Regions from separate parts of the Homo sapiens genome. Here regions 2 and 3 are each linked to region 1. The links are contacts of gene promoters, found by promoter capture Hi-C in human tissues and cell types (Jung and others, 2019). All regions are on one chromosome and are shown on one strand. The core of a region is centred on a gene start or on the middle of the fragment in contact, and the rest is flanking DNA. Distances in the headings are between cores, read along the strand shown. Region 1 holds the start of SAMD12 (sterile alpha motif domain containing 12). Region 2 overlaps LOC105375716 (a long non-coding RNA gene). Region 3 overlaps LOC105375716 (a long non-coding RNA gene).

The links. The method cuts DNA at HindIII sites, captures the fragments that hold promoters and counts their contacts. A contact is called where the count stands out against the background at its distance.
Region 2: a contact is called between a fragment that was not itself captured here and the fragment with the promoter of SAMD12 in region 1, in 1 of the 25 tissues and cell types used here (spleen).
Region 3: a fragment that was not itself captured here is called in contact with the fragment with the promoter of SAMD12 in region 1 in 1 of the 25 tissues and cell types used here (lymphoblastoid cells).

Annotation. Positions count from the first base shown.
Region 1 is chr8:118,620,713-118,624,264 of GRCh38, forward strand. It overlaps SAMD12 (sterile alpha motif domain containing 12), which reads right to left and starts at 1,251. Exons shown (of 4, transcript NM_207506.3): 1 at 1,092-1,251. The coding sequence starts at 1,104. SAMD12-AS1 (SAMD12 antisense RNA 1) reads left to right here and starts at 289. Exons shown (of 5, transcript NR_038210.1): 1 at 289-474; 2 at 823-943. RefSeq lists enhancers at 244-293, 324-533, 1,144-1,343 and a silencer at 1,444-1,593. The HindIII fragment of the contact is 2,703 bases long and covers 837-3,539 here.
Region 2 is chr8:117,301,596-117,305,147 of GRCh38, forward strand. All of the region lies in intron 4 of LOC105375716 (a long non-coding RNA gene), which reads right to left. The region is part of intron 4 of LOC105375717 (a long non-coding RNA gene); the gene reads left to right. Among named protein-coding and RNA genes, the nearest start is that of SLC30A8, 170 kb to the left of the region's middle. The HindIII fragment of the contact is 3,734 bases long and covers 1-3,552 here.
Region 3 is chr8:117,364,810-117,368,361 of GRCh38, forward strand. All of the region lies in intron 4 of LOC105375716 (a long non-coding RNA gene), which reads right to left. Among named protein-coding and RNA genes, the nearest start is that of MED30, 150 kb to the right of the region's middle. The HindIII fragment of the contact is 4,121 bases long and covers 1-3,552 here.

The DNA.
Region 1 (3,552 bases), core at 1-2,500:
GCAGCAAGCCAGCCTCGTGGCCTTCTCGTCTCTAGCCTACAAGGAATAGGCTGATTTCCCCTTGGCAAGGCGCCTGAAGCAGCTGGCAGGCAAGCCCTCCTCTTCCTACTTCAGTACGCCCTCTGACCTGACTGCACTCAGAAACCAAAATTCTGCAGGTGAATGTAGGCTCCCATTTCGTCCCACAATCATTTCATCATTCAGGCACAGCTTGACCTCTAATGTGACATCACAAACCCTTCCGGTCCACAGTTTTTTTTTCTTCTTCAGAAACTACCTAAACAAGGAAGTTTGTGTTCCAAGGTAAGATAACCTGAAATGAAAAACTCAGGATCCCTCACGAACAGCCTGACCCTGCTTTCAACCAGGAAGTTCAAGGGAGGCAGGACTTTACGGTCAAAACTGCAAAGCCGAAGCTCAAGACTGTAAGAAGAAAGTGATCTTCAAAGAAAAGGATTCACCCAAATCGAAGAGGTTGTTGCACTTCTTTTCCCTGGCTGATTACATTTCATGTCTGTAAACTTTGCTAAGCCCGGGGCGCTGGCTGTATAAGCAGAGACAGGTGTAGGGACACCTCTACCCTCTGGGTACATCTGCGGCCGCCGCTGCTGGGTGCATAGGACGAAGGGCCCTCGACCCAATCCCAGTCCAAGCTTCCGGATGACGCACCTGGGCTGGGGACCTCTCCCACGTGAGGGGGGCCAACCAAGCATCCCCAGCCCCGGGGCCACCCAGCCTGCTCCGGAGGGAGGGGGCAGGGAAAAAGGGCATCTCGGGGCCAAAACCTCATGCCGGATCCTCCGGCTTTCCCCCCATTTCCAGGATATCGTTTCGCATCAGGGACACTCGTCTCCACACCTCCTACCTCAAAGTCCTACGCACCTACCCTTCACGTCTCTCCAAAGCAACTGAATTAAAGCGCCTACTGGCCTTGGCGGCGCAGGTGAGTGCCAAGAGGTGGAGGAGGAAGGGGCCCGCTCTCCGCCACCCCCTTTCCTCGCCTCCCCACGATCGCCAAGCTTCATCGGGGATGTGTGCCTTGGGGTGCGCGGGTTAAGAGGGAGCTTAAAAATGCCCCAAGCGTCCCTTACCTTCCACAGCCATTCTCTCAGAGCTTCCCTAACGCATGCATAATTTTCTTGGCCGAGGTACTCCTCCTGCCCCGCGCTCCCCCCTTCCTCTCGCTTTCGCCTAAATATTCTGCGCTTATCTGCTCCAGGACCAACCTGCCGCGGTCACGCAAAGCGAGGCAGCCGGCTCCCGGCTCGGCGCGCGCAGGGCGTCCTGGGAAGTGTAGTTCCCTCCCTTCGCTCGGACTGGGGAGAGCACCCCGACTCCTCCGCGGAGTGCCGCCTGGCCCCGACACTTGGAGAGCAACTCCAGCTTCAGCTGGCCAGGCCGAGCAATCTCTCCTGGGGAAGTTGTGAGGGGACCAGGGATGCCTGGTTGTGGCGGGGCGGGGGGGGAGGGGGGGGGGGTTCCCGGGAAGCGGTCTGGACTACATCTCCCAGGAGGCCGTGCGCTGAGATAGGTTCGCTGCTAAGAGTAGGGACCCGTGATTGAGCCCTTCCCTGTCCATTACAAGGGGTTTGGCACCTAGCAGGTGTGGTGAGGTGGGCAGGTGACGGTCAGCTGTGTGATGAGCTCCTGCGAGCTCGTCCGTGGGCCTCTGCCGCCGGTACCGCCCCGCCCCCTGGCCTCCTGAACCACCATTTAGTAGGGAGAGCAGGACCACTGTCCTCCTGTGTGGTTCTCCACCTGGGCCAGAGAACGCTGCCCAGGGTGAGGTTGAAACTTGTTCCTTCGCACCCTGAGATGTATGGGTTTTGTGGGGGAATTCCGACGGTTGATACAGTTGTCTTATCCTACAGGGTGGTTCAGGTGGCTAAATACTTGGCATGGGGGTGTAGGGGAGGAGGAGTGGCTTAAACCCCAATAGGCAACGTCCCCAAGGGGTTGTTAGGAACAAAGTCTGGGAGCCAGGATTGCACCGGAGGAGGTCAGATGAAAGCCTGTCTGGCTTCCAGGATAGGAGGCTTTCAATTTGCCTAGACTTGGAGCCTGTTGACAGCCTGTGATAGGGCCTAATAATTAACAGTGCCTGAGAATCAGGTTCCTTCAACTTCTGAACCTATGTCCTAGCTGTAGGTGCTGGGGATGCTATAAGCAGACATGATAATGGGAATCACGTGGATAGCAATACAATTCGACAGCTCGTAAAAATTAAGTTTCTAAACATTTTTTCCTGCGTGTGAAAATACGGATACAGTTGTGGCTGGAAGGGGTAAGGGAATAGCCTCGGGAATAAATCTGGCTCAAGACTGGATTGACTTTTAAAGGCCTTCAGTTTACAAATGTATTTGGTACCACATCCACCCAGTCACTCATATATAATGTTAATCTCTGTAAAATGAGGAAGTACAAAAATCGGATTCTTCCCATGATGACTACTTAGACATTTTTGTGTGTCTTGGTCATCAGCAAAAAAAAAAAAATGTTTTTCAAAACAATTTCGTTTCTCAGTGTATACATGCACACCTGTTGTTCTGGTCACTAATTACATGCTTAGTTCCCCTACTGGGTAATATATAATAATAATATGTGTATAGGTACTTTAAAAAATACCTGCGTGTAACCATTAAATGCTCTTGTTGATACTTTAATTCTGAGTCCATGGAGCTGTGTACAAGTCAAACCTAAGCCTCTCTTTTAGGTACAGTAGAGAGAGACCCATTCAGTGAGACATAATTTCCATGGGAAAAAGAATTTTCCGACCTAATACACAGCCAAGCATTCTAAACTCTGGAAAGAACTGAAATCCAGGTGCTTCACTACTTTATGTATATAAAATCACCAAAGTGTTAAGTATTTTCTGAGATTGAATGAATGTGAAAGAAAGCCATAGGACAGGTAGTATCAATGGTTCTCAACCTTGGCTGTGCATCAGCCTTCTACAAATATATATTCCTAAGCTTTTATCTTAGTCTCACAGAATCAGAGCTTATGGGGGTTTGGGTAGAGGCACTCAGGTTTTAAAAACCCACAGGTGATTCCAGTCTTCATTGAGGGTGAAAACCATTGGTCTGGTTCCAAGCTTTTAAATATCTGGGTGATATAAAAATATAAAAGTCATTGAAATCTGTGGTTAATTTTAAAACTTCATCTTAGCTCATCTTTAATATTTTTCCCAGTGATGTGCATTCTAGACGAGTTTTATTTTTAGTATAAATAAAATGTGAAGGAGATGTTAGTTTCTACCATATGAAATAGCCAATGTTTGACCATTTTTAAAACCTACAAATAGAACAATTTCATGTGGTTCTGCCTAATAAGGGATAAACAATAGTTGCGCAGAGGTTTTCAATTCTGGCTGAACATTAGAATCACCTGGGAAGTACTAAAAAAAAATTACATTTATCTCTAGAATGTTTGAAAGATAAAGACACAAAATACCAACCGTTGGCAAGATTGTGAAGCAATAAAGATTTATATATTGCTGGTGGTGTGCAAATTCACAAAACCACTTTGGAAAACCATCTGAAATATTCAGCT
Region 2 (3,552 bases), core at 517-3,016, 1.3 Mb before region 1:
AATATAGTATGTGTGTATTTTCTTGTCTAAGATCTGTTGTCCTCACTAGATCTTAAGCATCATGAGAAGAGGGACTGTGCCTGTTTTGTTAACTCTGTTATCAGCAGTGCCTAATGTACTGCCACCACACAGGACCTCAGCAAATGTTTACTAAGGACATACAAACAGCAGGTCATTGCTGTATGTATATTTAATGTAAGGTTTCCTAGCTATTAGGGATACTCTCAGTAATATATCCAATTCTCACATTATAGAATCCAGTTACTCTACTATTTTTTCAGCTCTACTTGCTTGCAATATTATGAGAATGTCTCCAGAAGGAGAGGATTTTAGATGAAACTCAACCTAATTATTTTTTCTCTCTCTTTTTTTTAATTTTCATAATACCAATGGTAGGAGATTCCGAAACTATGTGTCAAAAGTACCTTTAGAAATTATAAAAATTATAGTTGTATTTCATTTTACTCGACAAATATTTTCAAACAGCTTTTTGTGGAGGTATCAATGTTATGGTTGTTGAACTGACCCCAAGCAAATTTTTGTCCAGGTGAAGTGATGAGGTTTATATAAAAATGACTTTTAAAAATAATATCATATGTAGTCAAAATTCAAAATATATAATAGAAGCAAAAATCAGTCAACAGAAATCATCTATTAAGAAGAAAACAATGTTCTTTAAGCCCCCTGAAGATTGGAAAACAGTAACTTTTTGGCATCCTGTTGTGGTATGCAGACCTGGCATATTACCTTATGAAAAGTAAATGATCCATGAATGTTGTTTGAATGAATGAATTGAATTAATGAATATTCATTAAATAACCATAGTTTCATGCTATTTACATTCTAACAAAGCATACTGCACATTATCAGGGTTTAGAATTAACTTTCTGCCTAGTATTATACACAGTTAATGGCAAAATAATCTCTGCAGTCTCCCCAGATGAAGGCCAAGAGGTTATTCTTGAGAATATAGTTAATCCTCACTTAAGGTCGTCACTAGATTCTGGGAAACCGTGACTTGAAGTGACATAATGCATAACGGAACAATTCCTTTTCCTCATCAACATTTTAACAAACTATGTTGAACAAAAGGATGTTATTAGAGGACCTGCTGTACATTGTGTCACTCGAAGTTGCAGTTTCCAAGAACCTATCAACGACTTCACGTGAGGAGTTCCTGTATTGCTATCTTACCCCACATATATAATTAAATCTCCAAGTATCCTTTCTATTCGCCTAATAACCCTTTCCCATTGACCGGCTTCTGTCTATCCCCTGGCTGCTCTTTAGTTGTGGCTATCAGAAATGCTGAGCTTAACTTGCTCCCCTCTTGGCTCCCTCTAACCTGTTCTCTAATTGCCACCAGAATGACCTGTCTAAAGAGCAAATGTGACCAGGACATTGTACATTGGCTTTCTTGGCTCCCCACGGATATGGTAAATTTAGGCTAATGCAAGACGCTTTTTAATCTGGTACTTGCTCTCCTTCCCTGCTCCTCCATTGTCATCATTGTCTATATTTCAGCTAGACAACTTCTTAAGTCCCCAAGTGACAGCACTGTCTCTCATTTTAGTTGGGTTATATTCTTCTCATCTCTAGGTTGGACTCTTGGTTAGAATTTTCCTTTCCTGACTATTTGCCTGGCTCACTCTTAGTTGTCCTTGAGATGTCCTTGTGGTCTTTACCCCCATGAGAAAGTTTATCTGTGATGCTAAAGAGTCCTGTAACCTAATTGTAGCAATGATCACCTGTCTTAATTGCCTACCTGCCTGTGTCTCTCATACCTCAATTGTAAGCTTCTTGCAGGGCCTATGTTTCATTTATGGTTGTATCCCTAGCACCTATTTCACGGTAGGAGCTAGTGAGTAAGTAAGGCAAGTATATTAAGATATATACTGAAGGCTGGGCGCGGTGGCTCATGCCTGTACTCCCAACACTTTGGGAGGCAGACGCAGGCGGATCACAAGGTCAGGAGATCGAGACCATCCTGGCCAACATGGTGAAACCCCGTCTCTACTAAAAATACAAAAACTTAGCCAAGTGCAGTGGTGCGTGCCTGTAATCCCAGCTACTTGGGAGGCTGAGGCAGGAGAATCGCTTGAACCCTGGAGGTGGAGGTTGCAGTGATCCGAGATCATGCCACTTGTACTCCAGCCTGGGCGACAAAGCGAGACTCAGTCAAAAAAAAAAAAAAAAAAAAAAAAAAAAAGATACACACTGAAGGGAAGAGAAAATGAATGAGCAAATAACAATCGTGGCAGAGAACAGGATTTATTCATTACAAGTAGCCTTGACCTCTTGTATCATTCCCAGTAGAAGCCGAGACTCCCAAACCCAGGCATATTTAGGACCTTCTTCAAACAATTGCCAGTACCATGGTGCTGGGGAAAAACAAAACAAAACAAACAAACAAAACAAAACCTTTCAGACACCTTAAACTAAAGCTGCTCTGTCATCTTGCAGACCCACCCTGGAGTCCAACAGGACAATTTTCAAAGCCACCCATCCTGGCAAAGTGCTTGACAAGCTGCAGGAGAACAGCATTCAGGATTGCAATTAGAGTTGGAAGAGAGGAGGAGGAGACAGGGGTCACTGGGCCAATCAATACTCAGCTACCCTCTCCCCCCACCCCCTCACCGCCGGTGTTCAGAGAAATGCCAAAGCTTGCCGCTTAATCGCGGTTCCCATTTTAGGTAGTGCACTCCTGCCATCTAGTGGTTCCCCCACGCTCTCCACAATGCCTTCAGCAGAGATGGATTTCATGTGCTGAAAACCCAGCAAAGGCAGAACCAAACCAAAAAGCCAGACTTAAAAGAGTGCCCTAAAAGAGTGCCCAAGTGCAATCAAAATCCACCTAGAGAACCACAATAGCATTTGGGTTCCTTTGTGACTGTTGAGAAGTGATTATCTTAGCTGGTGCGGAATGCCATAGAAGGTCCAAGTCTTGAATCATGGTGTCAGTCAAACTGGTAATCAGATTTGAAAACTGGTTTTTATTTCACTAGGAAATAGGAAATGATTTTAGTTTATCATGGATTGAATGTGTCTTTTTGCCCCTTCTTCTCCTAAATGATTCTAAATGTGTTGTGAATTGCCTAGAAATTATTCTTACCCAACAGTGAACTAGAGAATTACAAAACTGAAGAAAAAAAAAAAGCTAAGCTAAGAATGTCTCTGCTACTCTCAGCATAGAAGTGCCAAAAAAGCCAAAGATGACACAGCTGAGATTTAACAAGAAAAACATTTCAGGCAGCAGGACTGACAATGGATGAAAATGTCCCTGATTTCAGAGTCCCTGAGGGAAGCTGGCACTCTTACTGTTTTTTTCATGGTGCTCCTTAGGTAATTCATTGAAACATTAATAGTCTGTGTTGGCCCTGGGGCCATGAACTGGGACCCATCCAGTTGCACAGGAGCACATCAACCTGCAGAAGATACAGACCTCTGCTGCACATACTCTATGGCTGAGAAAACTGGTCTTGAAATAATTCTGAAAACAGAAAAGAGAAGTAGTCAGCCTGGCCCCAGAGAAACAATAGCCTTCACCACCAG
Region 3 (3,552 bases), core at 539-3,038, 1.3 Mb before region 1:
ACTCCTGGGTGCAAGCAATCCTCTTGCCTTGGCCTCTCAAAGTGCTGGGATTATAGACGTGAGCCACTGTGCCCAACCTGGTGATCCATTTTTAATTTGTGCATATGTGTGTATGATATGAGAATCATCATGGCAAGGCTCTTTTTTTTCCATATGAATATCCTGTTTTTCCAGCAATATTTGTTGAAAAAATTTTCCTTTTCCATTAGATTGTTTTGATGCTTTTGTTGAAAATTATATGACCATGTAAGTGTCTATGTCTGGACGTTTTACTGCCAGTTGTGTTGACCTAATAATGAATCCTGAATGCTAGTACCATATTTTCTTGATTATTTGAGCTGTACAATAAGTCTTAAAGATGGATAGTGAAAGGTCCTTCAATTTTGTTCTTCCAAGATTTCCTTGGAGGTTCTAGGTCCTTTACCTATATATTTCAGGATAAGCTGGTGTCAATTTCTAATAAAACACCTTCAGCAATCTTGAAACTCATTGATTCTATAGATCATTCTGGGGAATATTGCCAACTTTAAAATACTCAATCTTCCAGTTCAATAATACAGGATACCTATCCACTAACTTAGCAGCTTTGCAATTTCACTCAGCAAATTTTTTGCAGTTTTAAAAATATAGGTCTATATCATTCAGCTTTAAAAAGGAAGAAAATTTTGACATATGCTGCAATATGAATGAACCTTGAAGACATTATGCTAAGTGAAATAAATTAGTGATGAAAGGGCAAATCAATTAGCAGTAATGGCAAGATCACTGCTGTTCAACCCAAGATTATCTTAACAGTCAGACTTGAGAGTAGTGGGATGGCTGTCTTGGAGAGTAGAGAATACCACATTTTTTTCTGGAAGGTTCCAATGGAGGTGATAAAGCAGCACTCACATGGAATATTATTCAGCCTTGAAAGGAAATTCTGACACATGCTACACAAGGGTGAACCTTGAGGACATTATGCCAAGTGAAATAAGCCAGTCACAAAGGGCAAATATTATGTGATTCCACTTTTATGAGGTACCTAGGGCATCCAAATTTATAGAGACAGAAAATCAAACAATGGTTTTCGGGGGGTAGAGGGAGGGAGAAAATGGGGAGTTATTGTCTAATTGGTACAGAGTTTGTGATGATGAAAATGTTCTAGAGACGAACAGTGAAGATGGTTGCACAACAGTGTGAATGCACTTAATGCCAATAAACTATATACATACAATGATTAAAACAGAAAATTTGTCATTATGTCTATTGAACCAGAATTAAAAAGTAGCAAATTTTTTCATTAGGTATACCTAACCACAGTAAAAAAGTACAAGTCTTCATTTTTTAAAATGATACCATTTTGAAAAAAGAGTACTAGTTTAGATGCTATTTTGAAAATAGATACTATTTTGAAAATAGTTTAGATACTATTTTGAAAAAAAATTTTTAATTTTTAAATTTTGTTTTCTAATTTTTTTATAGTATATAAACCCACAATTTTTATTTATACTAACGTCGAATGCAGTGACGTTGCTAAATTTACTTATTAATTCTATTATTTTTCAAAGTCCTTAGAATATTCCATGTAGACAACGATATCAGCAGCAAATAGAGGGTTGTATTTCTTGCTCTAAAATTTATAGCTGAAATTAATTTTTCTGATTTCAGTGCTTAATAATACCAGCAGTGAGCTAGGAATTCCTTGCCTTATTCCTGATTTTGGAAAGAAATCATTCAATGTTTCACTGCTAAGTGATATGTTAGCTGTAGGTGTTTTTTGATACCCCTTATCAGAGTGAGGAAGTTTTCATTTATTTCTAGTTTAAATTTTTTTTAATCAGAAACAATGTTATTAAATCAAGTTTAGCCTAAAGTTGCCACCTTACACATTTTAAGTTCACTCTACAAGTTTCTCCATACACAGTGAACTGTGACCTAACTGGATGTGTAAACAGACTATAGCCTACCCTTATACCAATCTCTGAGCTTCATTCAATCAAAGGCGACCAACTTTTCAAACCCTGTTTAAATAAGGCAAACACCGACCTGTAACCAATTCAGCAGTTTCTGTACCACACGTCCATTTTCTGTACATCACTTTGCATTTTCTATCCATAAATGCTCTCTGGCTATGTGGCAGTGCAGAGTCTCTCTGAAACTATTCTGGTTTCAGGGGCTGCCTGATTTGTGAATTGTTCTTTGTTCAATTAAACTCTGTTAAATATAACTTGTCTAAAGTTGTTCTTTTAACAGTGTTAAATTTCATCAAATACTTTTTTCTGCATCAACTAAAATTATCACATGATTTTTTTCTTTTATTCTATTGTTATGATGAATTAAACTGACTGACTTTCAAATGTTATACTAACCTTGCATTTCTAGGATAAACCCCACTTGGTCATGATATAAAATCCTTTTTATATAGGGCTAGAATTGATATTTTGCTAAGGATTTCTGTATCCATGTTCAAGAGCGATATTGATCTGTAGTTTCATTTATGTATTTGTTTTGTAATTTCTTTGCTGGGTTTTGAATAGAGTTTTGAAGGCCTCAAAAGAAGTTTGGAAGTATTCTTTTTCTACTTTCTGAAAGAGATTGCATAAAATTGGTAATAATTATTCCTTAAATATTTGATAGCATTCACTAGAAACCCACCTGGCCCAGGAATTTTCTTCATGTGAAGATTGTTAACAGCAAATTCAACTTCTTTAACAGAGGTAGAACTATTGATATTTTCTGTTTTATCTTGTGTCAGTTTTGGTAAGCTTTATTTTCAAGGAATGTGTTTGTTTTAATTAAATTTTGACCTAAGTTTGTTTATAATATTCTTACTGTTCACTTAATATTTGTAGAATCTGCAATGATAATCCCTCTTTCATTCCTGATATTACTACTTTATGTTCTTAATCTTTTTTCCTCTATCAGTCTATCAATTTTGCTCATCTTTTCAAAGAATCATCTCTTCATTTAATTTTTCCTCATTTCTCTGATTTCTCTTTCATTGACATTTAATCTAATATTTATTAGAAAATCTTTGTGTTTACTTTGCTTTTCTTTTTGTTGTTTCTTAAAATAAAACTTAAGTAATGGATTTTAGACCTTTAGTTTCTAATATAGGCATTTATTTTTTACATATCTAAAAAATTTTAATTTGTTGTATTTTTATTATCCAGCTCAAAATAATTATTTTATGCTTTATTGACCTGTATTATTTAGATGTGTGTTTAATTTTCAAATGTTTAGAGTCTTCTAGATTGTTATATTTCAATTGCATAATCAGATAAGTTACTCTGTATAATCTACCTAACTAAAGATTTGTTGAATTTGTTTTTATGGTCTATCTTGTTGATTTGAAATTATTTTTATGGTCTATCTTGTTGAATGTGTCACGTGCACTTGGAAGAGAATGTGTATTCTGTATATCTTGGGTGTGTTGTACTATAAACATCAATTAGACCAAGGTAGTTTATAGTGTTTGTCAGATTATCTATATCTTTACTAATATGTTTTGTTTAGTTTTTTAATCAATTGCTAAGAGACAAGTGTTAACATTTCCAAATATTATTTGAA